Regions from separate parts of the Homo sapiens genome. Here region 2 is linked to region 1. Evidence: promoter capture Hi-C in 16 types of primary human blood cells and fetal thymus (Javierre and others, 2016). All regions are on one chromosome and are shown on one strand. The core of a region is centred on a gene start or on the middle of the fragment in contact, and the rest is flanking DNA. Distances in the headings are between cores, read along the strand shown.

Region 1 (7,583 bases), core at 1,610-4,109:
TTCTGTGATCTATTCTAAAGAAAAAGAAATATGGCTAGTCAGATACACTCTATAGGCTTTTAAGTTAATAACGCATATTTTTTTTCTTTTTCAAGAGAGGATCTCACTCTGTCACCCAGGCTGGAGTGCAGTGGTGTGATCTCAGCTCATTGCAGCCTCGGTCTCTCAGGCTCATGCAATCCTCCCACCTCAGCCTCTCTAGTAGCTGGGACTACAAGCCTCGAGCTACCATACCTGACTAATTTTTGTATTTTGTGTAGAGTTGGGGTTTCGCCATGTTGCCCAGACTGTCTTCCTGTAAGTAAAATTATCTAAATTTTTAAAATGTGTCCACAGGGTTAGTGCTAAATCTTAGCTTTACTTATCATTGAACACTCAGCCACATTCATTGGAGTCTCAACATTCATTTTCATCTGAAGGCGGTGTGAAAACAGTCCTGTCCCCAGACACTGGCTTTATCCACTGGCTTTATTGCTTAGCTTCCTCCACAGGCATGCCATCTATCTGGAGAAGAGTACTTTGATGGAAGTTTAGTCCTGGGAAAGACCTCAGAGATGAACTATTCCAACCAAGCTCTGCCCTCTTTGCCACACTCTACTTAGAAAATAAATTCAGGCCTAGAGGTGAAGTGCCTTGATCAGGGTCCCAAGGCTGGTCAGAGGCAGAACCGGAACCCTTGTGTCTGCCCAAGAAGGACAACAAGTCCTTTGCTGCTTCTTTTATGCCACAACAGCCTCAGGGTGCTGTGCTCAGTTTGGTAGCACAGTGATGTTAGAGCAACACAATATATTTCCTAGTGTCTTTTCACTAGAAAAGACACCAAGCAAGAGGTCTCCCATCTCCCAGGAAAGAGCAAAGGCCAGAGTTTTACATTGAGATCCTGAAGGCATTTTCTTATCTTTAATCCTAATCCTGTTTGGGTCCAATTTCAAAGAGATGAAGAGCATGCACTTTAGGCCTGACAGACTAGGGCCCTGATCATATCTTCCTAGTTGTATGACCCTCAGTGAGACAGGTAATTTCTTCATGCCTCACTTTCCTCATCTAGGAATGGGGGAGTGCTTTCCACACTTTCTGGAACACAGTCAGGCACTGCCTAATGTTTTCTTTGGAAACCCAGCACGTCTGTACAGCTATTTCCTTTAAAATGTGAGAAAGTTGATTTCCCTTCAACCTTTTCTTTCCATCACTTTTGCATTGCACTCGGCGTTTTCTCTAATTTACAGTTCTAGAGATTGGCAGATGCTCGAAGAAAATCAGAGTCACTACGGATTTATTTATTTTATTTTATTTTATTTTATTTTATTTTTTTGAGAGGAGTCTGGCCGTGTAGCCCAGGCTGGAGTGCAGTGGCGCGATCTCGGCTCACTGCAACCTCCGCCTCCCAAGTTCAAGCAATTAACCTGCCTCAGCCCCAGAGTAGCTGGGACTACAGGCGCACGCCGCCACCCCCGAAACATTTTTTGAATTTTAGTAGAGACGGGGTTTCACCGTGTTGCCCGGGCTGGTGTCGAACTTCTGAGCTCAGCCAATCCCCCAGCTTTGGCTTCCCAAAGTGCTGGGATTACAGGTGTGAGCCACCGCGCTTTTTGGTTTCCAATTCTCTTCCCCAAGAGGCCAGGAATTTTTGCATGAGTTGCCGGACACTGAAGTGATTTGGGACAATACATTGTGTGCCAACGACTTCAAGGTCCCTTTTCAACAAAGGACTGGAATCTTACCGAGATAAATCCCAAGACATGTTTGTAGCAATGCAAAGGACCACAGAAATCTAGACAAATTATTTAATTTTGCAGCTACAGAAACCTAGGATCTCAGGGGCTGGGATACTCCTCAGTTATCCAATCGGGCAGGGCCTAAAACCCAGGTTCAGTCGCCTGGCTCCGAGCTTTTTCCATCATACCAGCTGCGTCTCATTAACTCCACCTCCGAAAGTGCTAAGGAAGTTCCCTCCCAGTGCCTACCCAGGCAGGGTGGGGCGATTCTGTGGCATGGAACAAACCGGGAAAACGACATTTTCCAACTCTCAGCACACAGGCTGCTTTTTATCATTCCTACGGGGCGGGAGGGGGCAGGGAGAGAAGGCTAAGACACCGGGTCCAGTACCCAGAGATTCTAGGGAGAGATCTCTGAGATTGCCTACTTGGTGAGGCCACCTTACTTTCTCCTGGTCTGTTTTCCCCTGTGGGGTGGCTGCATGAAACGTCCTGCTTGGAGGGTTCCCCAATATAAGGTGGACTATTCTGAATGTAGGTCGGGGTGAGCAAGTTCCTGCCGCCGCCCCGTCTCTGCGGTCCTCGGAAGTCTAGGTGGGCTCTTCCTTGCCTTGCCTCTTTCTCCCCAACGGCGGGAGCAGCCCAGGGTTGGGGTGGCTGCGGTCGCCTTGCTCTCTCCACTTCCACGTCTCTTACTCCAGGGAGTTTCATCCGGTCCTCCGTCCTCGGCCCCCACCTTTTAAAACATTTTCCAAAACTACCCCATTAAAAGTGTGCGACTTCTCCGGGCCTGCAGAAGGAGCTCCTGCAGCCCGGCATTCCTCGGATTCCAGCGCTGTGACGTCCCCAAGGACGGCGCGCCTCCAGCTCGGGAGCTCGGGAGCTGGGGCTCCACGTTTCAGCGCGCGCCCGCGGCGCCCCCGGCGCGCGCCCTCCCGGGCCGCATTCCTCCCCGCCCCCGGCCGCGCGCCCAGCGCTCCCTCCGCCTCCCGGCCCCCAGGGCCGCGGAGCCCGGCTCTGGGGTGGGGGAGCCGTGGCCGCCGGCGCCTGCTCCGTCCCCTCCCACTCGCACGGCCCCTTCCTCCCTCCTCTCCCGGCCGCTCGCATTTCCTGCCGCTCTGGCTCTCCCGGCCCCTCAAAGTTCTTTCCAACTTTTTCTCGGCGGAGTGAGCGCAGCGGGCGCAGACTCGGGGGCAGGTTGCTGTGCTTCTCCGGGCTCAGCCGCCTGCTCTCCTGGCTCAGGTCCTCGGGGAGCCCTAGACAGACATCAAGTGGCCACTGGCGCTCCTTCCCCTCCCAGCTGAGCCATCCTCCCCGGCCTCCTCGGGCGGGACAGCCCCGTGCTTAGGTTTTTCTCCTTTTCTCCCCCGGTGCGCCTCTGCTCGGACTCTCGCGCCGGGATCGCGGCGGAAACCTCCCTCCCCTTTCGCCTCCTGCGGCTCCTTCCCTTCGCCCCTCCTCCGCCAGTCACTGGAATCAATTCCGTGGGGAATCGGCTCCGCCGCCGCGAAGGACAGCCTTTCCGCGCGGGACTCCGGGGCGCCACGGGGGCCATGTAAGCAGGTAAGCCCCGTCCAAGCCGGGAGTTGGGCCCGAGGTTGGAGGCCGCCTTGGCGCTCCGGGCGCCCTGCAGATGACTTGGGCAGACGCTGGCAACGCCAACTTGCGATTGGCGCCCCGGGACGCCTGGCAGGGCAGCCTGGGGCGCGGGGTGGCCGGGCCGCAGGGGTGTTATCTCGCGGTGGGAGCTGCCCGCGGTGAGGCGCAAAGCTGGTCCCGGGAGCGAGCTGGAAGGTGAGCGCAGTCTGGGGAGTTTGTGGTTAAACCCACACCCTGGTCCCCTCTCTCCATTCCCTTCTGCGTTTTGGGAACGAGAGAGGGCCTCGGAAGGGCAACTAGAGATACCTAGACCTTGGGGGCTAGAGGATGAAAGACGAACGACGTCGCGGTCGCTGCAGCGGTAGGGGGATGCAGCTGCCCGACGCTCCCAATCACACCCCACCACCACCGGGAAGGAATCTTGAGGGGAGCGGAGTTTTCCTGCCCTCTCACTAGGCCCCAGTGGTGCCACCGAACTCCTGGGCGTCGAGGCTCCTACTTGGGTGGTCGAGCTGGCTCGTAGAAAAAAAGCTGTGGCCAAACAATTTCAGATCAGGTCTTCACCTCAAACTTCCAAAGTTGTAGGTATTAACAGCCTCTCCTTCCCCACGTGACCCCCAGATCTCAGGTTTGAATACTTGTAAATGGGGTTTACACCTTTTCGTTTGGAGAGAGCAGTGAGGTAACGCTGCCCCTATCTCCCTTTCCCTCTCACTTCCTTGGGTTCTTGTTCTCCAACCTTCTCATCCCCACCTACAATTTCAGAAATTGTGGGGTTTCCGCTTAAGTCTAGGGACTGGCTGTCGCAGGTTCTTTGTGAAGGTGAGGAATCTCTAGACTGCAGGTGCGGGCAGTTACAGAGTTTCCACCAATGTGTTAACTTCTTGAAATGGATTAGTTTACTCATTCATCCAACAAACCCAGCTTCTACTCTGCTAGGAACAGGATAGAAAGATGCTAAATGAGATCACAGGGCAGGAGTCTGCAGCCTAGTGGAGGAAACTTGAAGGCCGGTGAAGAATGATAATACATGGAAGAGGGGTTCTGTGAGAGTCTGAGGCGAGCTTGGTCCTGGTGAAGGGTGCACTACACTTAGAGGATAGAGGTTGTGCTCCTCTGGAGGGTGTATTCCAGGCAGAGGAAACAGCTCGTGCAGAGTGAACACAAGAAGGACAGAAAGTTTCCCTAGCCATCTGGGGGCCTGAGGGGCATTTATGGCCATGTTGGTGCAGTGTTGCTGGGATAGCATTCTCTCCACCCCCAATATCAGAAATAAATCTAGAAGCACGTTAGCCACTTATGGGAACCACAAGTAGCTTACCGAGGAGCCAAGGCCTCCCTAATTGGATACACCTCCATGCCTGCTGCTGTTTTACCACAAGCAGCTGTTGTATGATCATCTACATTTTAATTGGCCCATGCTCGGTTTCATTAAAATGGTATTGATTCTTCTTTTTTGTCCCCCACATTCAAGCAATGATTCCTTTTTTAAAAAGGCTGTTTGACAGCCGTAGGTGTGGTAATACCGCAGCATTACGGACCTTGTATTATAAAGTTAGCTAATTGTTTGGTGATGAGGTTGAAGCTTGTGCCATAGAAATGACAGCCTTAATGAGCGGGAGCTGAATGGCATGATGCCCTTTTTGCCCAGTCTGAATGGGTGGCCATGAGGTGCAAAATTCGTTCATCTGTATGTCACTAAGTTTGTTATACTTTTCTCTGCTTTTAAGTCATTACTATTGCTTTAGCACAGTTGTGCTAAAGTCGTTCTTTTCTCTGAAACTTTATGAAAATAGAAAACACTATCTTGCACATTTTTGTAGACTAATGGCCCAGGATTCAGCAAATCCTGCCTAGAAAAGTTTCTTACAATGCAGTAGCATTCTGTACGTGGTTTGCCTTTCAAGGGTGTCTCTTCACTGGACTGAAGTGGTGTTGTAGTATTGTTCATAGTGGCTGAGTCCTGGCTGAGGTGGCAGACATCCAGCTTTTGGTGACCTCAGGCCAGTACATCAGAGTGGGAAGAACACACTGACTTCCTACAACTTTGGGTGTTTATCCAAGCCCCTCTACCAGCATCTTTTCTTATCTCAGGAACAGCCCCTTCACAGAAGTTTTCCTGAAGGTGTAGGGACCTGCATGAGAGAAATGGCTGAAGAGAAGCCCACTCCCACTAATCCCAGACATTTGCCCAGTTTCCATCATTGGCTTAAACATGTAATTATTATTAACACTTGAGTTATTCAGATTTGTGCATACTGTGTCATGCTGGTAGCTGTAATAGAAAGGACAGTTAGGCTTTTAATAGGGAAGCACCATAAGGAATTCAGAGAAAAATCAGAATTTTTAGAATAATTCTTATTTGCCCTGAACGGATGGGCTAAGTGTCAAGAACTATGAGGATTTTTTATTTTCCAGTGCCTTCCTTCCTTATTAGAGGTTTAAATTTGCTCCGGGGAAGCAAACATCAACCCTTTGATTACATATTATAGCCCCCCTGGGTTCCATATTCTTGTCATTTTTGAACAAGGATTTCATCAAATTCTTGCATTTGAGCTTCATTACTTAGTCACCAAATGCTGTGTTTTTAAAAAATTCATTTTAAGCCTGAGAACAGTGCTGTGAGCTTTGTTAGAGATAAGGCATGAGAAAGACAAGATGAAATACTTAATTAGCCAATTAAGGAATGAGGGAAAACAAACACGAAAGCTTTGGTAGGGAGGAGGTTCAAGTTAATGTTAAAATACGCTTTTGGATCTCCCCTTACGGATTTAAATTGATTTAATTTACGCTTCCTCTGTATGCATCCCATGGAGGGCTTATTGAGTGGTCCAAGGGGTATGTGTGGCAAATTCTGTAGCTTTTCCTGGCTGTCAGTGTGCTGGAGCAGGCGGTCCAGGTTTGGGAGTTTGAAATATAGCTAGGTTGGAATTCTAGCGCTGCCATTTTTTAGCTGTGTGATGTTGGATGGACGTCATAGCCCTTCTGAGCCTCAGTTTCTTCATCTGCAAAATGGATCTGGTAACATTTGGCCTCTCAGGATATGTATGGAGAATTCAGTGTCATGCTGTATAACAGTACCTCACACAGAATAGGTCAAGGATGGCTATTTATATGTTCAAGGACTTGTATGTGGCCATGAATGTGCTCTTTGTGTGTGATTTTTTTCAGCAGCCTGAATTCACATGTGTGTCAACATACACATAAAGCTTTGTTTTTGACTTTTTTTTTTTTTTCAGTCTATTGGCTCAAAATAAACATGTTGGCTGGCAGCTGCCATGTGGCTCCTCCTACAAGAGGAAATTGAGAGGTGGGGGACCAGGCAGTAGAGAAGTTTGAGGAGGGAAAGCCACTGAGAGATTAGAAGGGCAGAGAACAAGATCCTTTTCCTTGTATACTTCTTACTGTAATGATGGTCCAGTGTTTTATATAAGGATCCTTGTATTTCTAATGTTGAAATCTAGTTGATTAAAGAATGTTAGGATAACTCTGTCTGCCTTTAACTAGAGTACAAAAGCTAGCTGCTGTATCTTTGCAGCCTTGATTTCCCTTTTTGAAGCCCAAATATAAACAGTAAACTGCAACACTTCTAGTGTAATGCCAGCCACTGGTTATTTGAACTTTAATGTTGTCTTTCATCTGAGAAGCCTAGAGTATTTGACAAACGTTAAATCATAGATCTTCGTATCAACCTCAAAGCGGAAGGGAATGTTAGAAGGAATGAACAATGTTAGAACAATGTTAGAAAAAAGGGCAGGTATGCAGCGTGTGTTCTTGAAACAGGATGGCAAAGAATTGGTTAAATCTTTTCTGCAGGATTGCGTGCAGGGCTGGAGATCATATGAAGGTATCCTACCCCTTTGGGGAATCGGGGAGAGAGCCCAGGAAAATGCAGGCCTGACCTGGACTTTTGTAATAGGAGGGGAGAGGAAATGTATCTTGCCCAGACCAGCAGTGCCTTTGCCATATATTGCATGCATGCTGATTATGAAAATAAATAATCTTATAATTATTTATAATTCTGAATTAAAGGATATGATGCAATGCTTGTGGATGAAGGACACAGAGTAGCTGTGTAAAAGGTAATAGTGACTAAGTGCCTTTTTGTGTGATAAGGGTAGTTCTGGCTCTAGGTTGGGTTATAAATGACATATTAACATTGTTTTACTTTCCTTTCCTTTTTCCTGTTGGTTCTGTGTTTCTTGACTTTTCTTCCCCCCTCAAGCTTTTGTTTGATTTTCTTCAGGATCCTTGCAATTGGAAAAAACA
Region 2 (7,583 bases), core at 2,517-5,016, 970 kb before region 1:
ATATGTAGACAATCTTATTTAAGAACTTTCTAGAACTTATTTTATGGTTAAAAACTAATGACGTAAGCAAAACCAAATATGGTGAGTTATGGAAATTGAAGAGCATCTGAAAAGTGCATGAAATATACCATCTTGATGATCCTTTTTTTTTTTTTTTGAGACAGAGTCTCGCTCTTGCTGTGTTGCCCAGGCTGGAGTGCAATGGTGCGATCTTGGCTCACTGCAACCTCCATTTCCCAGGTTCAAGCAATTCTCCTGCCTCAGCCTCCTGAGTAGCTGGGACTACAGGCACCTGCCACCACTCCGGGCTAATTTTTGTATTTTTAGTAGAGACGGGGTTTCACCGAGTTAGCCAGGATGGTCTCGATCTCCTGACCTCGTGATCTGCCTACCTCGGCCTCCCAAAGTGCTGGGATTACAGGCATGAGCCACTGCGCCAGGACCTTGATGATGCTTTTAAGAACATCTTATGAAGTTAGAATTTTCACCTACTTCACAAGAGGTAGTTTTCTTTTCTTCTAGCCAATTTTAAAAAGCTAACTAATCTAAGCTTGTTATAATGCTAAGTCCTGTGAGCTATCTTGATTTCCTTTGTGTACAACATTTGAAGGTTTTTATTAAGATTTATCTAATATCAGTAATTACTATAAAATTGTATTTAAAAGCTACCTTTTTGGGAATGTAAATTAGTTCAGCCACGTGGAACGCAGTATGGGGATTTCCCAAAGAACTTGAAACAGAGCTACCATTTGAACCACAATTCCATTATTGAATATATATTCAAAGGAATATAAATCATTCTAGCATAAAGACACGTACATCTGTATATTCATCCCCATGCATCACAATAGCAAAGACGTGGGATCAAGCTAGGTGCCCATCAATGGTGGATTAGGTAAAGAAAATGTGGTACGTATACATCATGGAGTACTAAACAGCCATAAAAAGAATGACATCATATCCTTTGCAGCAACATGGATGGAGCCGGAGGCCATAATTCTAAGCAAATTAATGCAGGAACGGAACACCAAATACCTCATGTTCTCACTTATAAGTGGGAGGTAAACACTGAGCGCCCATGCACATAAACGTGGGAACAATAGACACTGAAAACTACTAGAAGGGGAGGGAGGAGGGCATGGGTCAAAAACCACCTATTGGGCACTGTGCTCACTATGTGAGTGCAATATACCCATATAACAAACCTGCACATGTAGCCCCACATTTAAAGTAAAAGTTGAGGATAAGGGAAAACTTCCTATACCACAGATTCTGTTTTAACACATGTAAAATACATATATTATATATGGTGAAGGGTCTTCACTAGACCAAGAATATAATTTGCATCCTTAAGGGAGTGCATACCAATAAGAAATTGATCATTAGTATTTTTCAGGCTGACATAAAAATCCCAATTTTGAATGAATAATTTAAGCAGGCATTTTAGCTTAGGTTACAGTTACAGTGTTTACTGGATTTTCTTTACTCCTAGTAATTCTTAGTCTATTGTGGAAGCATTTTCATATTGTGGTGGTAGCAAGGAAGTAATAAAAACACTAATGTTTATAGTGCTTCACAGTCTGTAAAAAGATCTGTTATGGACTATATTTCATTTGATTGATACAACAGTCTCCAAAGATAGGCACGGCAAATACCATTTCCTTTTTCTATTTATGAAAAAGAACTAGAACTTACGGATTTAAGTGACTTGCTTAATAGCACACAATTAATCATGTGACAGAGCTTAGTTGGCAGCCCTGGACTTCTGACCCCTAATCCCACATGTTCTTGTATTCATCAAGATGTACTCACAAGGACCCAGAAGCTGAAGGTTTAGTCTCATCTCTGTCATTTAAGTGCCTTATAAACATTAACAGCCAGATATTTTGAGTTTCAGTTTTTCTTGTTTAAAAAATGAAGGTTTTAATATCTGTCCTTTGTAATTGACAAGATAGCTATGAAGTACTTTGTGAGCTATTAAAGTGGTCTATTGAAAATATATGCGTGAGCAATATAACTGATTGTGTAGACCTGTGAAGTCAGGATCATTGATATTGGTAGAGAAGGGAGTTTTTTAGATTACAGAAGTCTTAGCTTGGATTATCGGTTATTCAAAGCACAGGAACTGAAATAAATTATCAATTGTAACCACACTGTGGCACTACTTACTCACGTAAGATTTTTCATTTCAAATTTTCTCCCTAAATTGAACTTTATAAAATGGAATATCACACTATGCCTGAGGAATTCATTGTGTTTTCTTACATATCTCTAAGTATTTTAATTATTTACTACAAACTTTCATAAAGATTAACGTAGTAGTTCCAAAAAATTGAAAAGTAGAAAATTATCGTCTTGATATTCTGATACCAAATTCAGAAAACATTGTAGCTTCTCGCTTTGATTGTGTTAGAGTGTGCGTGCCCATGTATGCCCAAAGCTGCTGAGTAATACAAGTACAAACTCCAGAAGACTTTAGCAAACTGCTTGACTATTATTCCCCTTAAACCTGGCATTAACCAGCTGATTTGGTTCCCAGAGGTGCACTGCCCCAGTCATATGCTATAATGAGTTGTCAAACGCATGACTTACCAGGAACAGAAACAAAATGATAGGCTTAACTGAGGAGAGATGGACTCAAAGAACAAATAAAACTTACTGAGGGCATATTATATTCAAATTACTGGAATCCATTACATTTGCATGTGACCCAAAAAACCCTGTAAATGAAAGGCTGCTTAGAAGTAGTTCAAGTTTTCTTTCTTTCTGGAGATGGGGTTGGGGGCAGGTCTTGTTATGTTTCTCAGGCTGCCAGGCTGGTTCCACTGGAGACTTAATTAATTACATGGAAGAATATGCAATGGCACTGGGAATGTCTAAAACATTCTAGACAGGAAGACACACAGGTTTGTTTGAGGGTGAACCATCTTGGAGACTGACTTCCTTGGGAAATCTAACCTAGAGATACCCTGGTGCGATGGAGAGGATGAAGCAGGCCACCATGTCCCTCTTTACCTTGACAAGTTAAGGGAAGGATGGAGAAGGATCATGTGAATTTATCTGGCTCCGAAAAAACCCACAGACATCTGTGAGACCCAGTTGCTCACACTCTACACATTTATTGAGCATCTACCTTTTCAGACACAGACCATCAGAAAAATTACCTGCTTGTAATTCTAATCTCAAAGAATACACACTCTTGAGTAAGAATAGACACAGGCACAAATAACCATCATGCGCATCCAACCGTGGAAAGTTCCTTACAGAACATAATAAATATCTGTTGAGTCTGAAATTATTTCCTCAAATGCTTGAGCACATAGAATAAATGTAAATTTATAAATTAAAAATCCTATTATATATTTACTGTTTGCTGGATATCATGATAAATTCTTAATCTAACAATCGTAATTCTCACAAAACTCCTAAAGGTAGATATTATCATCGCAATTTTACAACTTAGAAAAGTAATATTGACTGACTTGTCACAAACTGAGGTCTGTCTGATTTAAAAACTCATGCTTTGAAAAACACAATTTCAGGCTGGGCACGGTGGCTCCTGCCTGTAATCCCTGCACTTTGGGAGGCTGAGGCGGCTGCATCACCTGAGGTCAGGAGTTCGAGACCAGCCTGGCCAACATGGTGAAACCCTATCTCTACTAAAAATACAAAAAATTAGCCAGGCGTGGTGGCGTGCACCTGTAATCCCAGCTACACGGGAGGCTGAGGCAGGAGACTCGCTTGAACCTGGGAGGTGGAGGTTGCAGTGAGCTGAGATGGTGCTACTGCACCCCAGCCTGGGCAACAAGAGTGAAACTCTGTCACAAAAAAGAAAAGAAAAATACAATTTCAGGTATTCTGACTTCAACTGCAGTGCTCTTTTCATGACCCAAAGGACAGAAGGATCACTGCGTACAATTAGTTACTTCTGACTCCAGTGGTAGGAGAAAGGGACACAGATGTGGAAAGTACATTCTGGAGTGAAGGAACAATGGCACAATGAACACAGCTCATCAGGCTTGCTTCTAATTGCCAGTATTGTTCATGAATAGAATAGGATTGACCCAGGCCTCATATGTTGGGCTACACCCAATCATTCATTCATTCCCTAAGCCTTTTTAATTGCATAATAAATTTTCAATGGCTCTGTGCTTGGGGTAGAGCCAAAGCATCCACACAACATGATCCTCAGGGCCTGGCAACAAAATCAGCAGGGCTTTATTAAGGTGACAAAATATTTGATGGATGAGAAAAACTTCAGTAGAATTGATTCACCAAAGGGAGATGCTTCTCTAATGATTTCTATCAAACTCTGAATAACACCCAGTGGCCTAAAGCCATCACGTGACCGGGCCACTTCTTTAACCTAATTTCCTACCATTTTGTTCCTATGCATGTTCTCCTCCAGCCACACAATGAGGAAGCCTACAAAGTCCTCTCTTGCATGAAGATCTTTGCACATGACTTTCTCTCTGCCTAGAGTGCTCCTCATTCAGATACCTGCTTGGCTAGTCCCCTGACTCCCTTCGGGTCTCTGTTCAGATGGCACTCATCAGGGAGTGTGACGGTCCTATGTAAAGGAACTACCACACCATTCCAGCCTGCTCCCTTAGCCTGCTTGGTTTTTCTCCATAGCTAGCACTCATCACCATCTCACATAATGTACTCTATATTCATGTATTTGTTTGATGTCGGAAAGTTCTGAGATGGCAGGGAGTTTGCTCGCCTTGTCCATTTTAGCAATATTGGTACTCAGAATAATAAATATTTGTGGATGGAATGAATGTTATTCTTTTACTAATAATGTGGAATGTGTGTGTTTTTTTCCCAAGTCTCCATTAAAAGACCATGGGGTATTCAGTTAAACAAATAAATTTTGAGCACTTTGTGTTTATGCTAGACACCATAATAGGTGCCGGCACAACAGCAGAGATCAAGACTGAGTCCCTTCAAGGACTGCAGGCAAGTATAATCAATAGGTAATAGAAGAATAAGAGGATTCATTCCCAAGGTGCTCTGGGAACCATTGATGGGCACCTCACCCAGGTCTAGGGAATCAGAATAGATAGCTAAGAGAAGCTGCCATCAAAGCTGAGATATGAAGGACAAGTAACAGTTAACTATTAATTTAAAAATCACACAGTCTATAAATTTGGAAAGGAGATTTTTTTTTTTTTTTTTTAAATAAAGGGTTACGGCCTGCAAGGTACCCATCCTGAGAGGCTAGGAAGCATAGCCTCTGGCAGAAGCAGTTAGCAGGCACTTTGTGGGAGGAGAAGGTGGAAAAGGGATTTATGCTGATGGGTTTGCTAAGTATACATACTCAACAGGTTATAGGAGGAGCTATAAATGAAGTGGGTCCTAATGAATGTGTACTGAAATAAACATGCATTTGCATGCAACCCATGTTCACTTTGAAGTGGAGACAACATTTAAATGTATTACAATTAGGCCTATACATCAAAAGGTGAAGCAGGAACATGAAGACACTCAAGTGGGCAGCCTTTGTAAATTGGCCAGAACCAGTCTATAATCAGTGGTCTTCTTATCAGGATAAAGTTATTAAAATTAATGTCTTGTCCAGTCAAAGCTGCAGTTATGGCTTGTGGAAGAGGGAGGTCAGTTAGTCAGTGTCTGGTAGTGGTGAAATCCACTTGCTTCAGTATTGCTCATTTCTAGGCCAGTGCTTATTTAGGTGATAGAGAAGAAGAAGAAGAAGAAGAAGGAAAAAAAAAAAAAAAAAACTCACGGCAACTAGAACATAGTTTATTCTTTCTTTATTTTTTAATTTTTTTTTGAGACGGAGTGTTGCTCTGTCACCCCAGCTGGAGTGCAGTGGTATAATCTCAGCTCACTGCAACCTCTGCCTCCTGGGTTCAAGCAATTCTCCTGTCCCAGCCTCTGGAGTAGCTGGGATTACAGGCACATGCCCCCACGCCTGGGGGGGTTTCACCATGTTGGCCAGGTTGGTCTCGAACTCCTGACCTCTGGTGATCTGCCCGCCTCGGCCTCCCAAAGTGCTGGGATTACAGGCGCGAGCCACTGTACCCGGCCCATAGTTTATTCTTTAAGTATAGGGATGCATCACTTAACCATTGTCTGGCATGGCCTTGGTCCTGTTTATAATTTGGTAAATTATTGCCCCAAGAGTCCATTCTATCAGTCTTATGATCTCTATTTTAACGTTAATGCTGGTCAGTTGTGTCTAAACTGCAAGAGGGTGGGAGTGTAATGAGGCATGTCTGACCTCCCATTCCATCATGGCCTGGAACTCACTTTTTTACGGTTTCTCTGAGGTCCCCTTGGCCAAGAGGAGGTCCATTTAGTCAATTGGGGGGCTTAAGATAGTATTTTTAGTTCTCATAACTAAGCAAAAAGAGAATAATATTGCAAGCATGTGTAAAGATGAGTAGTTCTAAACTGAAATCTTGTGAAAAATGCAATATTCTTAATTATATTGTCACTTTCTATTAAATATGGTAGTTATATTTTTAGTAACTCATTTTAATAGATAGTAGGAACAAATTTTATCTTAGATCATCTGTCACTGACCATTGAGGAGGCCATTGAACTTGGTGGGCACACATACTCCAGTTGCTAAGGATTGTGGCTCTGACCACCAAATTTCATCAACCCTAAGATGCTATCATCTGTAAGGTGTGCTAATGTTTGCTAAGTTGCACTAAGAAAAAAAACTGCAAATAAATGCTTTTTCAAATAGTGTTCACTTTTATACTCACAAAAGATATTTTTTAAACTTATTTAAACATAAACTTTTATTACATATTACTCTTGTACAGAGAAAAATGTAAGTGAAATAATTGCTTAAGGCATTCCTAAAACCTCTTCACCTTTACAGTTTATTTTTACAGTTTTTTTTTTGGTCTCAAAATCATTAAGATCAGTATCTCCATCAAGACTTCACTACTGTCAGTAAGATTTTCTTACAAGCTGCTGCAGAAAGTATTGGTGATGAAGCTTTCTTGATCTGACCAGGAAGTGCCGAAAGAAGGTTTTTAGATGTCAATCAGGAAGGACACACCTTCCTCAAATGGCCCTTAAGTGATTTATCAGCTGAAGCATCAAGATTGCAGTTATTCAGTCATATTGCAAGGACCAACAACCATGTTTGTGGGTAGATAGTTAATAATAACTGGATCACGATTGCAATTTGGCTGAGAGTGATGTGTGAGAAAGCACATGTTGGTAAGATACCAATTTTAGGAATCCTCAAATTTGAAAAAGTGTGCCTTAAAAATGATGAAATATGCCAATTTTAAGAATTCTCAAATTTGAAAAAATGTGCCTTAAAAATGATGACCTATGGAAAGTAAAACAACAACAACAACAGTTTATCAGGCTATTCCAGATAGAATTTTGCTTATATCTATATAATTTATTCTACATACCAAGGAATCTGATTTCTTTTCTTTCAAACTTTGATGCCAGGAAGGTGGTCCTGCATTGTAGACTTGCATTTTACAGTCATTAGAAAGATAAGTTATAAAAGTGCTATCAGCTGACACATACCAGTATTTAACATACGCTTGATACTGTTTTAAGTGCTTTGCAAATATTAACTA

The links. The method cuts DNA at HindIII sites, captures the fragments that hold promoters and counts their contacts. A CHiCAGO score of 5 or more calls a contact.
Region 2: a contact is called between a fragment that was not itself captured here and the fragment with the promoter of PTPN14 in region 1, in 1 of 17 cell types (total CD4 T cells). The highest score is 9.2, in total CD4 T cells.

The regions. Positions count from the first base shown.
Region 1 is chr1:214,546,878-214,554,460 of GRCh38, reverse strand. PTPN14 (protein tyrosine phosphatase non-receptor type 14) reads left to right here and starts at 2,859. Exons shown (of 19, transcript NM_005401.5): 1 at 2,859-3,278. RefSeq lists enhancers at 1,733-2,553, 2,554-3,374, 3,375-4,196. The HindIII fragment of the contact is 5,292 bases long and covers 1-4,901 here.
Region 2 is chr1:215,518,250-215,525,832 of GRCh38, reverse strand. No RefSeq gene overlaps it. Among named protein-coding and RNA genes, the nearest start is that of KCTD3, 45 kb to the left of the region's middle. The HindIII fragment of the contact is 6,428 bases long and covers 553-6,980 here.